Regions from separate parts of the Homo sapiens genome. Here region 2 is linked to region 1. The links are contacts of gene promoters, found by promoter capture Hi-C in human tissues and cell types (Jung and others, 2019). All regions are on one chromosome and are shown on one strand. The core of a region is centred on a gene start or on the middle of the fragment in contact, and the rest is flanking DNA. Distances in the headings are between cores, read along the strand shown. Region 1 overlaps LRRFIP1 (LRR binding FLII interacting protein 1). Region 2 holds the start of ASB1 (ankyrin repeat and SOCS box containing 1).

Region 1 (4,325 bases), core at 865-3,364:
CAAAAAAAAAGAAAAAAAAAAAAAAGAAAAGAAAAACCACTATTTTTAATTTTTGGATTTACAAACTGATTGCAACTTACATATAAACTCAAAATATGTTTTACACAGTTCAAATATACATGAACTATTCCAGGAATGCAATCGACATGGAAATTGAAGGAAGATGATGATACTTGGCTTTGTTCAGAACTTTCCTGAGAGTTAGTCAACTTTGTAGAATGTCACGTCATAGACAGCAACATGAGGGGTGGTGTGTGGGTCTCAGTGCAACACACCTGTGTCAGCCTCCCTGTGACGCCAGGCACAGGTGTGTGCAGGTCTCATCACTGCATTCAACTGCTGGTGTACTTGGTCTTGAGTATTTCTATATCAAAATTCTTATTATGTTACTATAAACTACCTGTATTTTATTTTTTAAGGAAATGTTATATTGACTCGAAATTATGTGCGCTGGTTGACTTTCTCACCTATGCATTTCATTTCAGGCTAGTAAGGAAGTTAAGGAACTTGTAAAAAGACAGGGTTGAGAACCACAGCTTCAGAACTCCAGTGTGGATCTCTCGTCTCTCCATCACACTGTATGAACCAGCCCCGGCACAATTCAGAGCACAGGTCTGGGTGCCTGGTGCTCAGGCCATCATGAAGATTTGGATGGCATAAAGTTAGAGATCAAAGCCTAACTGATTACTTAAAACACTATGTTTCCATCAAAATTAACTCAGACAAATTATGGAGTAGACTGAAATTACCATGAAAGTTTACGGTAAGACGGCCACCTTCAAAGAAGGCTTTAGCTTACAAGGCTGCTCCTGGCCGGGCCCACAGGCCCCAGGAGCCAGCACACTGTCCTCTGCACTCGGGGGACCTGGCAGACAAGTCCAAGAAATGCTGGGTGCCGACTGCTTCTCTCAGCTATGGCTGCACTGTTCTCAGTAAAGGTCTGAGTTTATGCAGGTGCAGACTGTCAAGAAAGGAGTCTGAAGACCCAGCCACAGCCTCCAGCTTGGGCTCTGTCACCTACAGTTATGTGAGCCTGGATAAGTTACTCGGTTTTTGAACCCCAGCCCTCATTAAAGAAGTAGGAGGGGACGTAATCTTTAAGAGCTTCCTTCCCCTCTGAAATTCTTTGGGTTCATGCCAGAGGTGAATTATTTGTACACTGAGATTGTCCACAGACTGTGTCTGTTTTGCTACTGGAAATCTCCAGGCTTTGCTTTTCAGAATAATAAGCTTCTTTAAAGTCCTTCGCATCCTAAAATAGCAAACGTATTAATCGGGAACAAAATGATTGATGTTACTTTATTGATGACTCACACATTGACCTATTCAAACCTCACAACACAATCTTGGGCTTAGCAGCTACTCCCACTGGCGCTAAGAAATAAATACGCTATACAGTATCTTCCATGCAAGTGAACTTCTACTCTTGCTGTTAATACATTTCTTGCTTTTCCTGAGATGAATGAATCTTCATATTTCCTTCAATTGCCTCAACATGATGGAAATACAAGAACCATGACTACCACTAACAGAGACGTGCGGGACTGAGAGGCGAGGGCGGCTGGGCCTCCCCTGTGCCGTTTCCTCTCCAGGTGACAGGTTTCCCTCCAGGCAGCACGTCTGGGCTCCACTCCCTTCACCTTTGCCTGCTCTGCTCAAGACTGTCCTACAAACCCCAGACCTCTAGGGTTTCACAAAAACATTTAAATTGTTTCCTCTGAGAAGAAGGCTGAAAGCTCCACCAGCACCAGGGCAGCACACAGCAACTGACAATCTTTCCTATATTCAGTGGATATTCCCTGGAACCAGCTATAAAAGAAACAGCAGCTGTCATGTTTATCCTCCATGAACTTATCTACTTGGATGAGGTAGGGGAGGAGTTACATCATACCCAGAAAAATAAAAAGGCTTAAATCACAGCAGCTCTCAGGTGTATGCCGACATAAGCAGTAGTTAACATTTTAGCATGGTACAAAAATAGCAAAACAAGTTTCACAGCTATTTCATTTCTACCATTATTTTCCTTATGTAGAAAAGTAAAGCTCATTGGGCCGGGTGTGGTGGCTCATGCCTGTAATCCCAGCACTTTGGGAGGCCGAGATGGGAGGATCACTTGAGGTCAGGAGTTTGAGACCACCCCGGCCAATGTGGTGAAACCCCATCTCTACTAAAAATACAAAAATTAGCCGGGTGAGGTGGCAGGCACCTGTAGTCCCAGCTGCTTCAGAGGTCTGAGGCAGGAGAATCGGTTGCACCTGGGAAACGGAGGTTGCAGTGAGCTGAGATTGTGCCATTGCATTCCAGCCTGGGCAATCAAGCACGACTGTCTCAATAAAAAAAAAGAAGGAAAGTAAGTTCGTTCTTTGAATGTTCTCTTCTGTCTGGAAATTACCAGGCAGAGAACAGAAAAGTTTGACAGAGTGAAGACTTCCCAGTATGCATTCAAGACAAGGACTTCTGTCCTAAGAGGCAGCTTTGGTAAAAAGAAATCCTTCAGCCCCAATACTGGGGTATGAGACAGCAGGGCTGCCAAGAAAAGCTGACAACAGCGACAAAAGCAGCAGCAGCAGCCGTGGCAGCCACAGCTATATCTTGCACATTTACTACCTGCCAGCCCCTGCCTGCAGCATTGCATACAGTGGTGACAGTTATCAGTACCAGTTCCGAGTCAGCAGGCCTGGGTCTGAACTGGCTCCACTGCTGACTAGCTGTGAGGGCTTGGAAAGTCCCTGACCTTTCTGAGCCTCAGTTTCCTCTTTATCTGAAAAACTGAGAGAAAACGATCTGCTCCCCATGAGGTTACAGCAAGGGTTAGAGAAGACCTTCACATAAAACACCAGGTGGGCGCAGCAGGGGTTTGGTAAATATTAGCTACTTTCACTACTTAGTGTCTTCTTTGACAGCTACTGACCTAAGAGTATAAATCCGGTTCAGAGAAGTTTAGAAGCACGATGAGAAGACAAGCATGCTAAGGCACCCACCTAGCAGAGAAGCAGGAAAAACTGGGGAAACTTCAGAGGAGGGGGACAGAGGTTCTCAACCCACAGGGAAAGCCCACTCCTTTCCCTAGGAAAATCACACAGCCACGTGCCACATACAGTAAAAAAGACAGAAGGATCACAGGTGGCGTTGCTTTGATCATCTTCATTACACAAATAAATGAAACATTTTGGTTAAAATTAAGAGTAAATCTTCATTATAGTGATTTAAGATAAATTACTTCTCTACTACAAAGTAGTTATACTTTAGATTCAAGGGAAAACTACTTACCTAGTTTTAAAGTTGTAAAGTTACAATCCCAAGGAGAAACCACTGGAAACACTGGCCCTTTCCAAAATGAATGAATGAGTCTCGGAATACATATAATTTCTGTTGCCAGGTGTGTGTGTGTTTTGGTTTATTGTTTTGGAATCTGGCCTGGGGCAGGGGGATTATACTACTGGTCTATAATCAAATACATGGCAATTTTGAATGATTAAATCTTGCATGTAGTCAAAATATTTAATTTGGGAGAAAGAAACGAATTTACTTAATTTTATCTAGGTAGTCTGAATAATAAAAGTTCTAGTAAGTCCATTCCATGAAAACAAGCTTCTTTATTTAAAAAAAAAAAACAAAAAACAAATTTGGGCGGCCTCCAGTAATAACAGTGAGGTAATAAAAATCCTCTTCTCCTGTCCCATGTCTAACACGTAGTGAGATGTAATGGACTTACTGATTGGTGAAGAGGTTGGTAATCTAAACATTATGGCCTCTGGGGCTTCAAGATCACTCCTTTAAATACGAGCAGATATTCTGGAAGCACTGGCATATGAGTAACCAGTCATAAACAATTCCTTTGCTGAGTCACACAGCCTGATTTTTCGGGGATAAGAAGTTCCTCTTGGACATTGCCTTTTGAGGACCAAACATGCTGCACCAACATTTAGTCTCACAATTCTGTAGGGATTGGATAAGAATCTCACTATAATCAGGTAACTCTCCAATCAACTTCGCTGAAACACCGTTCTGCAACTATAAATAACTTGATTTCCTGTGCTCAGCATAAGTGGCAGTTGAGACTGCAGGGTTTTTTGAAATTTGCTAAGGAGGCTTCCGCTGTGGGATATTAACTCAGGCTGAACAGAAACTGACTCTTAAAGAAAAAGGGAAATTTAGTCTCCATCTTTGCCCCAGTAGGACACTCTCAATACTACTAGAAAAGACCTACCTTACTATATTTATGTCTTACCTGCCCGGGGAAATGACATGCCTAAAACACACACCATATGATTCCACGCTCCACCATCTCAGACTGAGCTAGAGCAGGGCCAGCCCGCCTCGTG
Region 2 (4,325 bases), core at 719-3,218, 730 kb before region 1:
TAACCAACAGGTAAATGGCGGCCACAGGACTTTTGCTGAGCCCTCTTCTGGGCCCCCTCTGCTGGCCTCTGTGCTATCCATTCCTGGCCCTGCTCAAAGTAGACTCAGAATCTTTCCCCAGCTCCAGATTCAAAAGCAACTTCAAGTTTGTGTTTCGCTGATCAACTACTCCAATGACAACACAACTGCCCCAGGATAGCACTTAAGCTTCAACTGAAAATCTGTTGCCCCTCTACCCGAGGCCGAAACACACTGAATAACAAAACAGCAGTGCATGAGGATATAAAAAGGAGCCCTCAGCTGAGTGTGGTGGCTGCCGCCTGTAATCCCAGCACTTTGGGAGGCAGAGGCGGGCAGATCACCTGAGGTCTAGAGTTCGCTATCAGCCTGGCCAATATGCCAATATGGTGAAGCCCCGTCTCTACTAAAATACAAAAATTAGCCGGGCATGATGCCAGCACCTGTAATCCCAGCTACTAGGGAGGCTGAGGCCAGAGCATCGCTTGAACCCCCGAGGCGGAGGCTGCAGTGGGCCGAGATCACGCCACTGCACTCCACCCTGGGCAACAAGAGCGAAACTCCGTCTCAAAAAAAAAGGAGACCTGTGCAGCCGACAAAGCCAGTGTTTATTCCCCAGGAACTCTCTTTATACTGGGAAGTAGCTGTTGGTCCTCTTTTTCCCACGGAACACGCATCATTCCGTCTCTCACTCTCACATGAGATGACATCCTAGACCCTAAGGTCCTGGCTGTCTCTGAAGTCAAAGTCAACGCCAACCAAAGCCCAGGATGGTAGATGCTTTGTCTGGCTTTTTCTGGTCACTGCAGTATCCTCTGCTGGGTCTAGCCAACAGCAGGTCTTCAATACAAGTCTGTTAAATGATTGGAAGGAGGTGCAGAGGGAGGGATGGATGGAAAAGCCTATCTGCACCAGTCTCCAAGTCAATCTTTTAAGATGTTTAAGAAATGTATTGGTTTATTACTAAGTAGGAGAGGAACCCCTCCAAAGACAAATATAGGCATGTAAAGAAAGCCCAGAACACACGAAACTATTGGCGCGAATGGCAAGCTCAGAAATCCAGCAAGAAGGAACTCCCACCACACCACCGGGAAACGGGAACCTGTCCTGACCGCTTCCTTCACATCTGCATGGTAGGGACACTGCAAGGTGGAGACCCTAAGTAGGACAGTTATTTTGGAAGGTGGGTGTGAGCCTTTCTATCTGCCTCCCTTGCTGGTGGGCCAAAGGCCCCTGGACATGTTGTGTCACTGACGAGCTCGCTGGAGACGGCGTCCCCGTTGTCCCTGGTCTGTGCCTGTGGTGGGTGGGAAGGCTGCCCCCCGCTGTACCACCGGACACGCCGTGGGCGGCAGAATGGTGAAAAAGTGCCTGCCCTCCCTAGGGCTACCCTCTGGCTGGCTTTCCTGATCCGTGCGCTCAGAGCTGGAAGGTGGCCCACGTCCTACTTTTGCGGTTGGGTCATATCAAATCTGTATCGGCTAACGGGAAGGAAGTTACGAGCAAGTTCCACCGGAAAGAAAATCTAGCGCGGGGACTGCACTCGAGGCCGAGGAGAGGGCAGCGCGTCCGTGGTGGGGTCGCCCAGCACTGCGAGCCGCGCTGAACCCCACCCCCGGCCTGCAGGGTGCGGCTCCCTGGCTGCCCCGTGGACCCGGCCAGCCCGGGACGAGGACGCAGGACCTCGGCAGGGACGCCGGAGCCAGCCCTTCGCCATCCCCACACGCCCCGCGGCCCAGTGGCCGCGCGCACGTTACCTGCGGAGCCCGGCCCTGCCCGCCCGTCTGGGCTGCCGCCCTCCGCCATGGATGCTTCCGCCTCCGCGGCCGCCCCTGACCCGCGCACGCCCCTCGGGCAGGAAGCAGAACGACCCGCGACCACTTCCGGCGCCGAGGGCAATGGGGGGCGCGTCGGGGTCGCGGCTTCCGGCGGGCGCGCGCCGGCCTCACTGGTTTCCGGGGCCGCGCAGGGGCCACGCCTCCGCTTCCGGCCTCGCTGTCTAGCAGGGCGCTGGCTGGTCCCTTCGTCCGGCGGGAACTTCGCGGCTAACCGACTCTCTGGATGCCGGCCGCGCTGTGGTTTCCTCACATAAGAAGCCAAGGAGTCGGAAAGCCCGTTGCCTGAGGCAGCAGTCTGGGAATTTCGGTCCGGCGGGCCGTCCCCACCCACACGGACGGGGCGTGGCTTCTGCCAGATGTGGGCGGGGCCCCGAGGGCCGTGGCGGGCGGGACCCGGGCCTCGGCCGGGCTGGCTTGGTCCCCGCAGGTGCCCCCCGCTAGCCACGAGCAGCCCCGGGAGGGTGGATTCGGAGGCGCGGGGACTGGTGAGGGCCCACTGCAGGGCTGAGCGTCGCAGCGTGCTGTGGTTTTAGATGAATGCTCCTCCAAATCCCTTCCATGAAGCCCTCAATCAGGTCGGTAACTGATGACAGCCAGTGGCTGACGCGAAGTTCATTGAATAAATGAATGCATTCGTGAACAACCGAGTAACATTTCTTGCACACTCCCAACTTCAAATATCGCAGCGTCGTCCCACCATGAGTATTGGTGTTGGTCCTAAAGCACGGATTCCCTTGGCTCCTCCCATTCTCCCCTGCTGAGTTAGACAGCGGGGCCTCATGCAGGAGGAGGATTTGTACACAGCACAGCAGGAGGCTGATGAGGGAGTCCGGAGACCCCAGCAGTCGTGGGCGTGAGCTGCTGGCTCATCCGTGTGTACAACATTCCAGACTGGAGTAAGGGAAGCCGCAGGCGCAGCCCCGCGAGTGCCCCTGCTGAGGCTGGCCCTGGGTGGCCCAGATGCACCAGGGGGCCCACTGGGGGCAGACCTGGCAGGCCCTGTGGGGGTTGGAGGCGGGAGTGGGGGTACTTCCTACAGTGGTGTTTGGTCTTGATGACAGCAGAGAGCACCACTGGCATGAGGGACAGGTGACTCCGATGATGACGCTGCCAGGCCAGGAGCCAGGGGTGTGCCCAGCCCCTGGCTCCACCACAGCTGCACATCCCGAACTCGGAGCTTCAGCAACTCCGAAGCCTGAAGCCGCCTCACGTGTTGTTGGATGGATGAATGGATAAACGAAATGCCGTCCATCCATACAATGGAATCGTACTCAGCCTTAGAAAGGAAATGCTGTCCGTCCATACAATGGATTCGTACTCAGCCTTAGAAAGGAAGGGAATCCTGACACACGTCACAACACGGATGACCTTGAAGACGTTATGCTGAGTGAGATAAGCCAGCCACAAAAAGACAAATACAGTACTGTGTGATTCCAATTATTTGAGGTCCCTGGAGCAGTGAAATGGTGGAGCGGAATGGGGGTTGCCAAGGGCTGGGGGAGTGGGGAATGAGGAGTTAGTTTTTCATGGGGACAGAGCTTCAGTTGAGGAAGATGAAAAAGTTTTGGAGACGGGTCACACAGCAATGTGAATTGTGCATTAACAGTACTGAACTGCGCATTTAAAGCAGGTTAAGTTTTATGTTCTATATATTTTACCACAATTGTTTTAAAGAATTTTTTAAAAGAGGTTCCGGTGCAGTCAGTCAGGGGTGCGGGTTGGGTGTTGGGTGGTTCAGAGCACCCAGGTGATTCTAAAGTGCAGCCTGGTGAGAGCCACGTCTCCGGGGGCCTCCGCTGCTCTGCCTGCCTGGTCCCGGTGGGCTCACAGTGAGCGTTCTGCGTGTCGGTAGCCTTTGCATCAAGGTATTGAGTCCCTGAGCAGAGTGGCCCTCCTGCACCTGCACCTCCACCTTCCCTGCCACGTGTTGCCCTTGGGATCCTGCCTCTTAGAAGAACCTGAGGCCGCACGTGGTCTGTAGCGGGGAGGTGGCCTCACATGCCCACCTCCGTGCCTCCTAAATGCCCACATGGTGCAGGGCAGTGTCCACAGAGCCAGCAGTGCTGGAGGGGGAAGGACACTCAATTGCTGGCCACTCTGCCAATACCATCACCCCCATTTCTCAGGACCCTGAGATCTGGGGGCCTGGTGCTATGCCCAAAACCACATAGCCCACAGGTGGCTGAGTTGGGATCACATCCAGACTGTCCAGCCCTACAGCCTGTCTCCCCCTCTGACCTCACCTCTCCAGAGTCCCTCTTCTTCCAGGTCCTCTGAGCCCAAAAGACCCACCAACACAGGGACACTCAGTGACCGCTAGAGATGAAGCAACTTGGGTCCCATCACCTACAAGCAACAGGGATTTACCAGTGCCTACCAGTGCCATCCCAGCCCAGCACAGCAGCAACAGGACCAGTGCAGTGGGCTGTCTTGCCCCTCCAGGTCCCAGTGGCTCCCTCCCGTTTTCCC

What was found. Contacts are between HindIII fragments. The study calls those that stand out against the background at their distance.
Region 2: a contact is called between the fragment with the promoter of ASB1 here and a fragment that was not itself captured in region 1, in 1 of the 25 tissues and cell types used here (lymphoblastoid cells).

What each region holds. Positions count from the first base shown.
Region 1 is chr2:237,695,047-237,699,371 of GRCh38, reverse strand. All of the region lies in intron 1 of LRRFIP1 (LRR binding FLII interacting protein 1), which reads right to left. Among named protein-coding and RNA genes, the nearest start is that of LRRFIP1, 70 kb to the right of the region's middle. RefSeq lists a silencer at 966-1,015 and an enhancer at 2,079-2,288. The HindIII fragment of the contact is 4,703 bases long and covers 1-4,325 here.
Region 2 is chr2:238,424,570-238,428,894 of GRCh38, reverse strand. It overlaps ASB1 (ankyrin repeat and SOCS box containing 1), which reads right to left and starts at 1,968. Exons shown (of 5, transcript NM_001040445.3): 1 at 1,776-1,968. The coding sequence starts at 1,824. It overlaps LOC124908002 (a long non-coding RNA gene), which reads left to right and starts at 2,001. Exons shown (of 2, transcript XR_007088163.1): 1 at 2,001-4,325. RefSeq lists enhancers at 1,220-1,339, 2,852-3,387 and silencers at 1,590-2,109, 2,130-2,519. The HindIII fragment of the contact is 10,702 bases long and covers 1-4,325 here.